Regions from separate parts of the Homo sapiens genome. Here all the other regions are linked to region 2. The links are contacts of gene promoters, found by promoter capture Hi-C in human tissues and cell types (Jung and others, 2019). All regions are on one chromosome and are shown on one strand. Each heading gives the region's core, a stretch centred on a gene start or on the middle of the fragment in contact. The rest is flanking DNA. Distances are from core to core; before and after follow the strand shown.

Region 1 (2,700 bases), core at 87-2,586, 170 kb before region 2:
CGTGAGCCACTGCACCTGGCCCTGGCTAGTTCTTTTAACTTTTACTTTGGTACAGACAGGGTCATGTTGGCCAGGCTGGTCTTGAACTCCTGGGCTCAAGCAATCCTCCCACCTCGGCCTCTCAAAGTGCTGGGGTTATAGGTGTGAGCTACCACGCTTGGCTCTTTGTCTTAATTTCCCTCTTCCTATAAGGACACCAATCATATAGGACTTAGCGCACACCCCAACCCGGTATAACCTCACCTGAACTTGATTTCATCTACAAAGGCCGTATTTCCAAGTAAGGACACATTCAGCGGTACCAGGTAGACATGAAGCTTCCAGGACGCTATTTCCCCAATGCACACCTCTACACGGAGTTAGTCACACTCCTCTTCTTCTTCTTTTTTTTTTTTTTTTTAAGACAGTTTCTCTCTTGTTGCCCAGGCTGGAGTGCAATGGCATGATTTCGGCTCACTGCAACCTCTGCCTCTCGGGTTCAAGCAATTCTCCTGCCTCAGCCTCCCAAGTAGCTGGGATTACAGGCATGTGCCACCACATCTGGCTAATTTTGTATTTTTAGTAGAGACAGGGTTTCTCCATGTTGGTCAGGCTGGTCTCGAACTCCTGACCTCAGGTGATACGCCTGCCTTGGCCTCCCACAGTGCTGGGATTACAGGCGTAAGCCACCGCACCTGGCCTCACACTCCTCTTCTTTTTCTCTCATTTAAGTGAGCCGTACCCTTAGGAGGAAGTTGCACAGTTGACATTAGGGTGGGCCAGGATAGCTTTCTGAGCCTTAAAAATCTTAAAAGTTTTGCCGGTCACAGTGGCTCACGCCTGTAATCCCAGCACTTTGGGAGGCCAAGGTGAGCGAATCCCCTGAGGTCAGGAGTTCCAGACCAGTCTGCCCAACAAGGTGAAACCCTGTCTCTACTAAAATTACAAACATTAGCTGGGCGTGGTGGTGCACACCTGCGGTCCCAGTTACTTGGGAGGTTGAGGCACAGGAATCTCTTATTTATTTTTTATTTTTTATTTTTTTTGAGATGGAGTCTCGCTCTGTCGCCCAGGCTGGAGTGCAGTGGAGCGATCTCGGCTCACTGCAAGCTCCACTTCCCGCGTTCACGCCATTCTTCTGCCTCAGCCTCCCGGGTAGCTGGGACTACAGTCACCCACCACCACGCCCAGCTAATTTTGTTTTTGTATTTTTAGTAGAGACGGGGTTTCATCATGTTAGCCAGGATGGTCTCGTTCTCCTGACTTCATGATCCGCCTGCCTCGGCCTCCCAAAGTGCTGAGGCACAGGAATCTCTTGAACCCAGGAGGCAGAGGCTGCAGTGAGCTGAGATCACGCCACTGCACTCCAACCTGGGCAACAGAGCAAGACTCCATCTCAAAACAAAACAAAAAAACTATCTGGGCATGGTGGTGGGCACCTGTAATCCCAGCTACTCGGGAGGCTGAGGCAGGAGAATCGCTTGAACCCAGGAGGCGGAGGTTGCAGTGAGCCAAGATCACACCACTGCACTCCAGCCTGGGTGACAGAGCGAGCCCCTGTCTCAAAAAATTAAATATATAAATAACAAATAAATAAATAGGCTGACTCTTTGCTGTTTCCCCACAGTATTGTATGCAATATATAACCACTCAGCACAGCCACCTCTCCAACGTTCAGGAGCAAACTCTATCTCCTTGGTTCTTGCCCCCACCATTATCAGAACCTTCCCTCTGCTTTACTCTCTGAGCGCCTGCCAAGATCAGTTTGGGTTTTGTTTCTCTATTAGTTTTCACCAGTGTGGAGCTTCGTCCTTCCAAGAGGGAGGTTCTACTGAGTGAGCACTTCCCAGATCCCTGGGGAGCCAGGCTATTTAGCATCTTTCAGCTTCTCCACCACACCCTATCCTCACCTACTCACTGGAGCCCCTAGAGATTTGACTACTGTTCTTGTTTTCTTTTCTTTTTTTTTCGGAGGGGTGGAGGGGGACAGGGTCACTGTCGCCCAGGCTGGAGTGCAGTGGCACAATCTCAGCTCTCTGCAACCTCTGCCTCCCAGGTTCAAGCAATTCTCCTGCCTCAGCCTCCTAAGTGGCTCAGATTACAGGTGCCTCCACCTGGCTAATTTTTTGGAGGTTTTTTGTTTTTGTTTTTGTTTTTTTTGTTTTTTTTTTTTGTTTTTTTTTGAGAGAAAGAATCTCGCTCTGTTGCCCGGGCTGGAGTGCAGTGGGCTCACTGGAACCTCCGCCTCCCGGGTTCAAGAGATTCTCGTGCTTCAGCCTCCCAAGTAGCTGGGACTTCAGGTTTGCGCTACCATGCCCGGCTAATTTTTGTATTTTTAGTAGAGACAGGGTTTCACCATGTTGGCCAGGCGGCTCTCAGAACTCCTGACCTCAAGTGATCTGCCCGCCTCGGCCACCCAAAGTGTTGGATTACAAGCGTAAGCCATTGCACCTGGCCGAAAACCAATCTGTATCATAACCCCACGGCACCTGAATCATTTCTAAGTGTACAGTTAAGTCGCGTTAAGTATATTCACATTGTTGCACAACCAATCTTCAGAATTTTTTCATCTGATAAAATTGAAACTCTCTGCCGCAATTAAATCCCACTTCCCCAATTCTCCTCCCTTCAGCTCCTGGCCACTTTTTCCAGCCCCATTTGTTGAAAACATGGTGGTGAGCTCCTTGAATGACTGAGAAGCTTTTGTACATGGACAGGAAA
Region 2 (2,724 bases), core at 225-2,724:
TCGCAAGGTCAGGAGATCGAGACCATCCTGGCCAACATGGTGAAACCCTGTCTCCACTAAAAATAAAAAAAATTAGCTGGGCATGGTGGAGGGCGCCTGTGGTCCCAGCTACTCAGGAGGCTGAGGCAGGAGAATCACTTGAACCAGGGAGGCGGAGGTTGCAGTGAGCTGAGATCACACCACTGCACTCCAGCCTGGGGATAGAGTGAGACTCCGTCTCAAACAAACAAACAAACAAATAGCGGTAAGTGGGGCACATGCCTATACTCCCAGCTACTCAGGAGGCTGAGGCGGGAAGATAGCTTGAGCCCAGGAGTACAAGGCTGCTGTGAGCTATTATCACGCCACTGCAGTCCAGCTAGGTAACAGAGTGAGACCCTATCTCTAAAATAATTAATAAATAAAACAAAATAATTAGCCAGGTGTAGTAGCCAGTAGCTACTTTGGGTCCCAGCTACTGTAGTCCCAGGTACTAGGGTGGCTAAGGCAGGAGCTAATTCCTTGAGCTAAGGAATTTGAGGCTGCAGTGAGCTATGATTGTGCCACTGCACTCCTTCCTGGGCGACAGAGCGAGACCCTATATCAATAATAATTATAATAATACAGTATATTTTACATAATAGACCATAGAGCTCAATGAATCCTCCTCACAACCCTATGTAGGTAGATGTTATCATGATCTCTGCTTTCCAGAATAGAAAAGTGAGGACCAGAGAGGGCGACCTCTTGTCCAAAAGCAATACAGCCAAGAAGGGGCAAGGAGGGTTTTGAAACCAGTCGGCCAGGCTCTGGGGCTCCTAACAAGCAAAGCAGCCTGGTTTCTAAAACTATAGCTTCTGGAAGCAGCCAATTCACAGGTCTTTACCTCCTGACTGTGAGACCTCCAAAAAATGACCAGGGATCTTGGAGTCTGTTTCCCCCTTTGTGAACTGGGGACAATAGAAGCTACTTCCCAGGTCTGCGGGGAGAAATTAGGAACGAAGAAGGTAAAGCGCAGAGCTGAGGAGCTGGTCTACAGGTGCTCTATACATATTAGTAATAATTATTAAGTTTGCTGTTACAATCCTCTCTCTCTCTGTGAACAACCCCTAATGATGCGTGGCTTTGAGAGCAAAAAAGTCAGGGCAAAGTTTTGCCACAAAGTCCAGAGGGCAAGACATTAAATCTAACTCTCAAGGATTGGTGTTGGCAAGAAAGCAAACCTCTCCTCCCCACGCTGTCCTTACCCCGCGTATCCGACGAGCCTAAAGTCATAGGTAAGAGATCTGTAGAAGCGACGTCAAGGTGTGGTTCCCTCTGTAAGGCGGAGCTAAACGGTGCATTCGCCCAGCGGGGAAGCTAGAACTAAATGACCGCTCTGCCGACTGGAGCCAACGAGAATCGGCGTAGGCGCAATACGGGCGGAGGATGGGGACCCGCCCCCGGGGTGGGCGGGGCGTCAGGTACTTAATTCGCGCCTGGAGGGACCGAAGGTGCCGAGGGCTCCGCATCGCAACCATGGCGCTGCGCTGGGGCATCGTGTCTGTCGGCCTCATCTCCAGCGACTTCACAGCCGTGCTGCAGACGCTGCCTCGCTCTGAGCACCAGGTCTGCCCGCCCTCCGGATTCTGGGGAAGAGGAGGCGGGGGGCGGGACTCCAGAGTCTAAAGGAGGAGGGAGTTTAGGGTTCAGGACTAGTGAGTGGGTCGTCATTGCAGTGAAACGTCTGTTTCCTTGCTACCTCCTTCTCCATCTCTGTTCTGCAAACCTGTGGGGAAAAGAAAGATCAGATTGTTACTGTGTCTACGTAGAAAATGAAGACATAAGAAACTCCATTTTGAACTGTACTAAGAAAAATTGTTTCTGCTTTGAGATGCTATTAACCTGTAACTTTAGCCCCAACCGTGTGCTCACAGAAACATGTCCTGTATTGAATCAAAGTTTAATGGATTTAGGGCTTTGCAGGATGTGCCTTGTTAACAATATGTTTGCAGGCAGTATGCTTGGTAAAAGTCATCGCCATTCTCCATTCTCTATTAACCAGGGGCACATTGCACTGCGGAAAGCCGCAGGGACCTCTGCCCAAGAAAGCCTGGGTATTGTCCAGGGTTTCCCCCCACTGAGAAAGCCTGAGATATGGCCTCGTGGGAAAGGAAGACCTTACATCCCCTAGCCCGACACCAGTAAAGGGTCTGTGCTGAGGAGGAGTAGTGAAAGAGGGAGGCCTCTCTGCAGTTGAGATAAGAGGAAGGCTTCTGTCTCCTGCTCTCCCTGGGAATGGACTGTCTCAGTGTAAAGCGGACCATTCCCATTCCTTCTATTCTGAGATAGGAGAAAACCTACCTGTGGCTGGAGGCGAGATATGCTGGCAGTGATACTGCTCTGTTACTCTTTGCTACACTGAGATGTTTGTGTAAAGTGAAACATAAATCTAGCCTACGTGCACATCCGGTCACAGCACCTTTCCTTGAACTTATTCATGATACAGATTCCTTTTCTACATAGACACAGTAACAATCTGATCTCTCTTTCTTTTCCCCACACAAACCTGAGTGTCTTGAGGTTTGGAAAGGCCTTGATGTAAGCTACTATGAAGATAATTTCAATATTGGGGGATTTAATAACGGCTTTCCCCCAGATCTCTCTTTCCCAGGGCCCAAATGTCCAGCCCCCGTCATCTCTTCCCCCAGGACCACGTCTCCCCTTCCCCTGGCCAGAGCCTCCTCCTTTGCCTCCCTTCCACCC
Region 3 (2,700 bases), core at 112-2,611, 240 kb before region 2:
TCTTTTTTCCTTGTCGCTGAATCACAGGGAAACAGGTCGTTTGTCCTGTGGACGGGCTCACATTCTGGACTGGGCTGATTGCTGCCTCATGGTGTCGTTTCACTGGGAACTTTGTCCTCCTGTTTTCTGCAAACTGGTGGTTAGAGTGGGAAGCTTGATCTGATTTTTTTGTTTGTTTGTTTGAAGGGAGCTCCGTAGCTGGTAGGTAGCCTCCTGCTGCTTAGCTGAAGCTGGGGAGTGGCTGCTGGTTTCTCTTTCCTCCTGTTAGGACTGCTGGGAGCTCTGGTGGTGCCTGCCTCTTCTCTCAGTAAAATTCCTCATCCATCTTTTTTTTTTTTGAGACAGAGTTTTGCTCTTGTTTCCCAGGCTGGAGTGCAATGGTGTAATCTCAGTTTACTGCAACCTCCGCCTCCCAAGTTCAAGCGATTCTCCTGCCTCAGCCTCCCAAGTAGCTGGGATTACAGGTGCATGCCACCACGCCCCACTGATTTTTGCATTTTTAGTAGAGACAGGGTTTCACCATGTTGGCCAGACTGGTCTCAAACTCCTGACCTCAGGTGATCCACCTGCCTCGGCCTCCCAAAGTGCTGGGATTACAGGCATGAGCCACTGTGCTGGGCCATGGCTAATTTCTGTATTCTTATAAGGACGGGGTTTCACCTTGTTGGCCAGGCTGGTCTCTGACTCCTGACCTCAGTTGATCCGCCTGCCTCGGCCTCCCAAAGTGCTAGAATTACAGGTGTGAGTCACCACACCGGGCCCATTTGTATTTAAAAATTTTTTTGAAATAGGCAGGGCGAGGTGGCTCACGTCTGTAATCCCAGCACTTTGGGAAGCTGAGGCAGGAGAATCCCTTGAACTTGTGAGGCGGCGGTTGCAGTGAGCTGAGATCACGCCATTGCACTCCAGCCTGGGCAACAAGAGCAAAACTCTCTCAAAAAGTAATACTACTAATAATTAATTAATAAATAAATATAAGACTCTGAGGGGACTCAGAGTCAGCGAGAGCCTGGCCTAGCAGGACTCTGTCCCCCGCCTCCATGCTGCCTTCCTGGAGGCCTTCCTGGCTGCCTGGAGGAGCGGAGCAGAGTGGGGGCCCCTTTCTGTTGGGGCATCACAACAGTTCCCCAAGGAAGACCCTCGGGGACCCGGATGGGGGATGCGACCTTGTCCTGCCTCTCTCCCCCACCCTTATGGCCAGGCTTGGGGTGCCTGGTGCAGGTGGAGGAGCTAAGGGTAGATAACAAGATGGACTTTGTGGCCGGCAATGGGGAGGGAGGAGGGGCTACGGGCTCACCTCCCTCCCGCAGCCCAGCCACACCTGCTCTGGAAAGCCCTGTAGCTCCTGGGCGGGGTTTGCCAGTCACCGATGCTGGAAGGGTTTCTTTGGCCCTGAGTGAAGAGAGACCCAGAGGGAACACTGAGGTGCCTGCCCAACCACTCTGTCCCGGTTTCCTTCAGCAGGACCAGGTGAGAGAAGGTGAGGGGGCTCCTCTCCCACCCTACAACACGCACACCTCTGCACACACGCCCAGGCGGAGAGCAGGGATTTGGGACGTGGACCTGTGTGCCCTCGTGGGTCCCTGGTGCCCTCTGGGAGGCACCCCCAACTCAGGACCTCCAGGAGAGGAGGGTCCCTCCCTCGGCAGCCAGGACCCCCCTCCCCAGCCAGCCGCCCTCCTTAGCTCCCTCCCCACTTCCTTCCAGGTGGATCTGTTTCTAGAGCTCCAACCACCAGCTCCCTCCCCTTCTCCACCCCGGGCCACCAGGTCCTTCCTTGTCTCCTTCCCCTCAGCAGTTTCTATGAACCACCCTGGCAGTAATGGTGCAGATGGCTCGCGCACAGCTGGTGGTGACCCGACTTTCCTGCCTCCACCCTGGGGCTCCTCAGAGGCTTCATGGAACCCAAACTGCTGGTCTCACCTCCGAGCCCTGCCGTCGCCCAGGGAGGGCGGCTCCGTCCCTCCTGCACTCCCTAATCCCGCTCTGAATCACCGCTTCTGTTCTGGGTCGGAGAATAAAGGTGGGGTTTCCAAGTGATGGCCCTACGTTATTGTCTGAAGCTCCCTTCTCCTCCCCAGGGTGGAAGTGATAATGCCGGGAATCCGGGAATCCCGGGGAGGTGCAGGAAGACAGCGAGCTCGAGGCAGTGGGGTGCGACTGAGCCGGATGTGCTGAGCTGCCCGGGGCACGGGGCGGTTGGGGTAGAGAAAGGCTTTCAGAGCTGGGGGACAGGACGGGGCCCCGGGTGAGCGGAGAGCTGGGTTATTTCACGGGAACAGCTGGTGACAAAGCCGGAGGGGTGTGCGGGGCCGGCGAGAGACTGGGATTGTGTCTTAAGAGGCATAGGGAGCCCTGAAGGGGCTGCGAGCTGGGAAGGGGCAGGGCCGGCGCTGGGTGTAGGGGACAGAGGGGAGAGGAGGAAGCCGGGCCGCAATAGAAAGACGTGGACGGGGCTGGACGTGGTGGCTGACGCCTGTAATCCCAGCACTTTGGGAGGCCGAGACAGGCGGATCACTTGAGGTCAGGAGTTCGAGACCAGTCTGGCCAACATGGAGAAACCCCGTCTCTACTAAAAATACAAAATTAGCCAGGCGTGGTGGTGCATGCCTGTAATCCCAGCTACTCGGGAGGCTGAGGCAGGAGAATCGTTTGAACCCGGGAGGCGGAGGTTGTGGTGAGCCGAGATTGTGCCATTGC
Region 4 (2,700 bases), core at 84-2,583, 140 kb before region 2:
GCCTCGTGGGCTTTGAGAGAAAAGGATGCAGCACCTAGGGGTCCGGCCTAGAGACTGGGAGACGGGAAAGTAGGGGAGGAGCTGGTTGGTGGGGGGCAGATAGTAAGTTCAGTGCCGGAGACATGAAATGCTCCCCCAGGTTGGAGAAACCATCAGAACACTGGGGGCTCGGATGACTGAGTCCTTCAGAATAAAATGGGCTGAGGAAGCAGGATTCCTGGGTTAAAGCCCCAGAGTCACGTCACTGAAGAAGCCCGACAATGTGTGTTCTTTGGCATTTTATTTCAAAATTGCAGCAAAGACAGAGAAAAAAAAATCAACGGCAGCACCAGGGGTCTGGCCTGAGAACGGAGAGATCCGGAATCGGGGCCAAGGTGTATCCTTGACCGCACGACAAGGAGTAATGGGCGGACCTGAACCCGCGACGAGGGGCTGGGGGCCAAGATGCCTGGGTCGGCCCTTACGGCTTTGGGAGTGTCGCAACCACATGGGGGCGCCAGAGACCCAGACGCCGCCCGCTGGCCTTTTATTTCGTATTGCACTTCAGGTGAGTCATTGGTAGGGAGGCGAGTGCTGGCGTGACGAGATGCTACGGGTCGGTGGATCTGGAGCACAGCCTGCAGCTTCACACCGGGAACATCCACTCGTGGGCTCTGATTCCGTACTGCGGAACAACGGAGGCAGTGCGTGAGGTGGAAGCTGCACTACAACTCCCAGTAGGCCCTGGGGTGTTCCAGGCCGAGTGCCTACGGAGCTGTGCCCCAGCGGCTCACGGGAAATGTAGTCCACTTCCCAGAGGGCCCCAACAATGATGGGAACGGGGAATCAAGGCTAAGGCGGCGCAGAGGCTTCCGGGAGATGTAGTTCTGAAGACAGGAATTATGGCCAGGCCTCTAAGGCTCTTGGAAAAAGTCACTTTCAGCTCAGAAAGCCCAGATAGTCAGAGGATGTGTAGTTCTAGGTCCTGATGCACAAAAGTTTACAGAAATGTAGCTCTAGGTCTGGGAAAGGAGCCCAGAGATTCTTGGGAAAGAGATCTTGGCCCAGAAGATGGGAATACCCCCAGAGATTTATGGGATTAAACAGTCTGGTGCCAGAGAGGGGCCAAGGTCCAGAGGCTCATGGGAGGAAGCTTTCTCCGGCCAAAGGGATAGCCCAGGGCTCCAGGGAATCTTGGGAGGCCAACCTCTGAGATGGCCAGAGGGCTGGCTAAGGTCTCAGTGATTCATGGAAAGGGCCTTTCTCCCACCAGGGCACCCGGGGCAGCAGAGGATCACAGGGAGGGAGTTTCTCCCACCAGGGCACCCAGGGGCCTCAGAGGCCCACGGAGAGGGGGTTTCTCCTACCAGGGCACCCAGGAGCCGCAGAGGATCACAGGAAGGGGTTTCCAAAGCTGAAGACATATCCAGGGCTCCGGGAGCTCCCAGGAAAGGGTGATTTAGCCCCAAGGGGTTTTCCAGGCCACAGAGCAGCACAGAAAGCCCACTCTCCAGGGCCTCAATAAGAAAGGCCATTATCTGTTCCTGGTACTACTGAAGGAGGCTGGCTGTTAGTCCAGGGGCTCATGGGACACCAACTTCTCCAGGGAACAAGCTCCCAGCCCATTCCCCAGCTCCCTGCAGCTCACCTGGATCTCCTTCAGCTCCTTCTGGAAGCGGAGGATCAGCTCAGGCCCATTTTCCATGGTGGGAATGTGGAGGTTCTGGGACAGAAGGTGCGGTGAGGACCAAGCCCCTCCCCTCCTTCCCTCCCACCCACAATGGCAGCCCCGCCTCACCCTGTCTTTGTACAGGATTCGGTGCACTGGGCAGACCTGGCAAGCGGTGCCCGAGCCAAAGACTTCCCGCACGCGGCCCTCCTCCAGGGCCCGCAGCAACTGCTTCATGGTGATCGTGCGCTCCACCACCCGGAACTCACCCTGCAGGGCAGTTGGCAGAGACACGTGTCCCCAGAGGGTTGCCCTGCTGCAGACCTCCACCTCTCCCTCCCTGAGGATAGTGAGAAAGACAGAGGCCCAACGGGAGAGACAGACCCAGGAGAAGGGGCAGAGACATGCCAGTGTGCCCCAGTCCCAGCCCTCTGATGCCCTGGCCCCTGGCACATGGCGCCCATCACCAGAAGATGCCATGTCCTCACCCAGGTCTGAGCCATGTCCAGTAGACTCTGTCTGACCACTCCAGGCAGGATAACACCATTCAGCGGGGGCGTCACCAGCTCCAGCACTAGGGCAGGTGTAAGGGGTGGAAGATGTTACCTCTCACCCCCTAGCACCGCCGTCTTAAGAGCCACCCCCTTCCCCCATCCCAGAATCCCTGGGGCCTGTAACCTGCCAGGAATGATGGTGCCACCCACTTCCACCAGGGTTCGGGCTGGGTCATGGGTGGGCTTACCCCCATCTTCGTGGGTCCAGTAGACAAAGATGTTCATGGTTCCCACCTCGGTGAGCTGGTGGTCGGGCCCATACAGCCAGAGGACCTGTTCACAGCCCCGCTTGAGTGCCTCCTGTTGCACTAACACGGTGGGCCCATAATTCCTGGTGGAGGGCAGTCTGGTTGGGTGGGGCAAGGGAGCCCCATCCTTCCCCAGCCCAGCCCCAGAGGAGGCTCATCCTACTCTCTCCCGTCTCCCTGCTCACAGCTCTCACAGGGCTCCCCAGTTCCCCTGAGATGGAATCCTTGACTTTTCATTTGGCATCAGGAC

What was found. The method cuts DNA at HindIII sites, captures the fragments that hold promoters and counts their contacts. A contact is called where the count stands out against the background at its distance.
Region 1: a fragment that was not itself captured here is called in contact with the fragment with the promoter of DHDH in region 2 in 3 of the 25 tissues and cell types used here (adrenal gland, dorsolateral prefrontal cortex and spleen).
Region 3: the fragment with the promoter of FUT2 here is called in contact with the fragment with the promoter of DHDH in region 2 in 1 of the 25 tissues and cell types used here (dorsolateral prefrontal cortex).
Region 4: a fragment that was not itself captured here is called in contact with the fragment with the promoter of DHDH in region 2 in 1 of the 25 tissues and cell types used here (spleen).

What each region holds. Positions count from the first base shown.
Region 1 is chr19:48,766,676-48,769,375 of GRCh38, forward strand. No RefSeq gene overlaps it. Among named protein-coding and RNA genes, the nearest start is that of FGF21, 13 kb to the left of the region's middle. The HindIII fragment of the contact is 4,374 bases long and covers 1-2,700 here.
Region 2 is chr19:48,932,225-48,934,948 of GRCh38, forward strand. It overlaps DHDH (dihydrodiol dehydrogenase), which reads left to right and starts at 1,475. Exons shown (of 7, transcript NM_014475.4): 1 at 1,475-1,587. The coding sequence starts at 1,498. RefSeq lists an enhancer at 1,048-1,549. The HindIII fragment of the contact is 30,682 bases long and covers 1-2,724 here.
Region 3 is chr19:48,694,610-48,697,309 of GRCh38, forward strand. FUT2 (fucosyltransferase 2 (H blood group)) reads left to right here and starts at 1,362. Exons shown (of 2, transcript NM_000511.6): 1 at 1,362-1,480. RefSeq lists enhancers at 633-1,196, 1,761-2,324. The HindIII fragment of the contact is 31,324 bases long and covers 1-2,700 here.
Region 4 is chr19:48,794,801-48,797,500 of GRCh38, forward strand. It overlaps BCAT2 (branched chain amino acid transaminase 2), which reads right to left. Exons shown (of 11, transcript NM_001190.4): 7 at 2,391-2,533; 8 at 2,137-2,222; 9 at 1,778-1,918; 10 at 1,628-1,702; 11 at 264-664. The coding sequence ends at 626. Among named protein-coding and RNA genes, the nearest start is that of BCAT2, 15 kb to the right of the region's middle. RefSeq lists enhancers at 433-502, 543-722, 1,320-1,955. The HindIII fragment of the contact is 3,051 bases long and covers 1-2,700 here.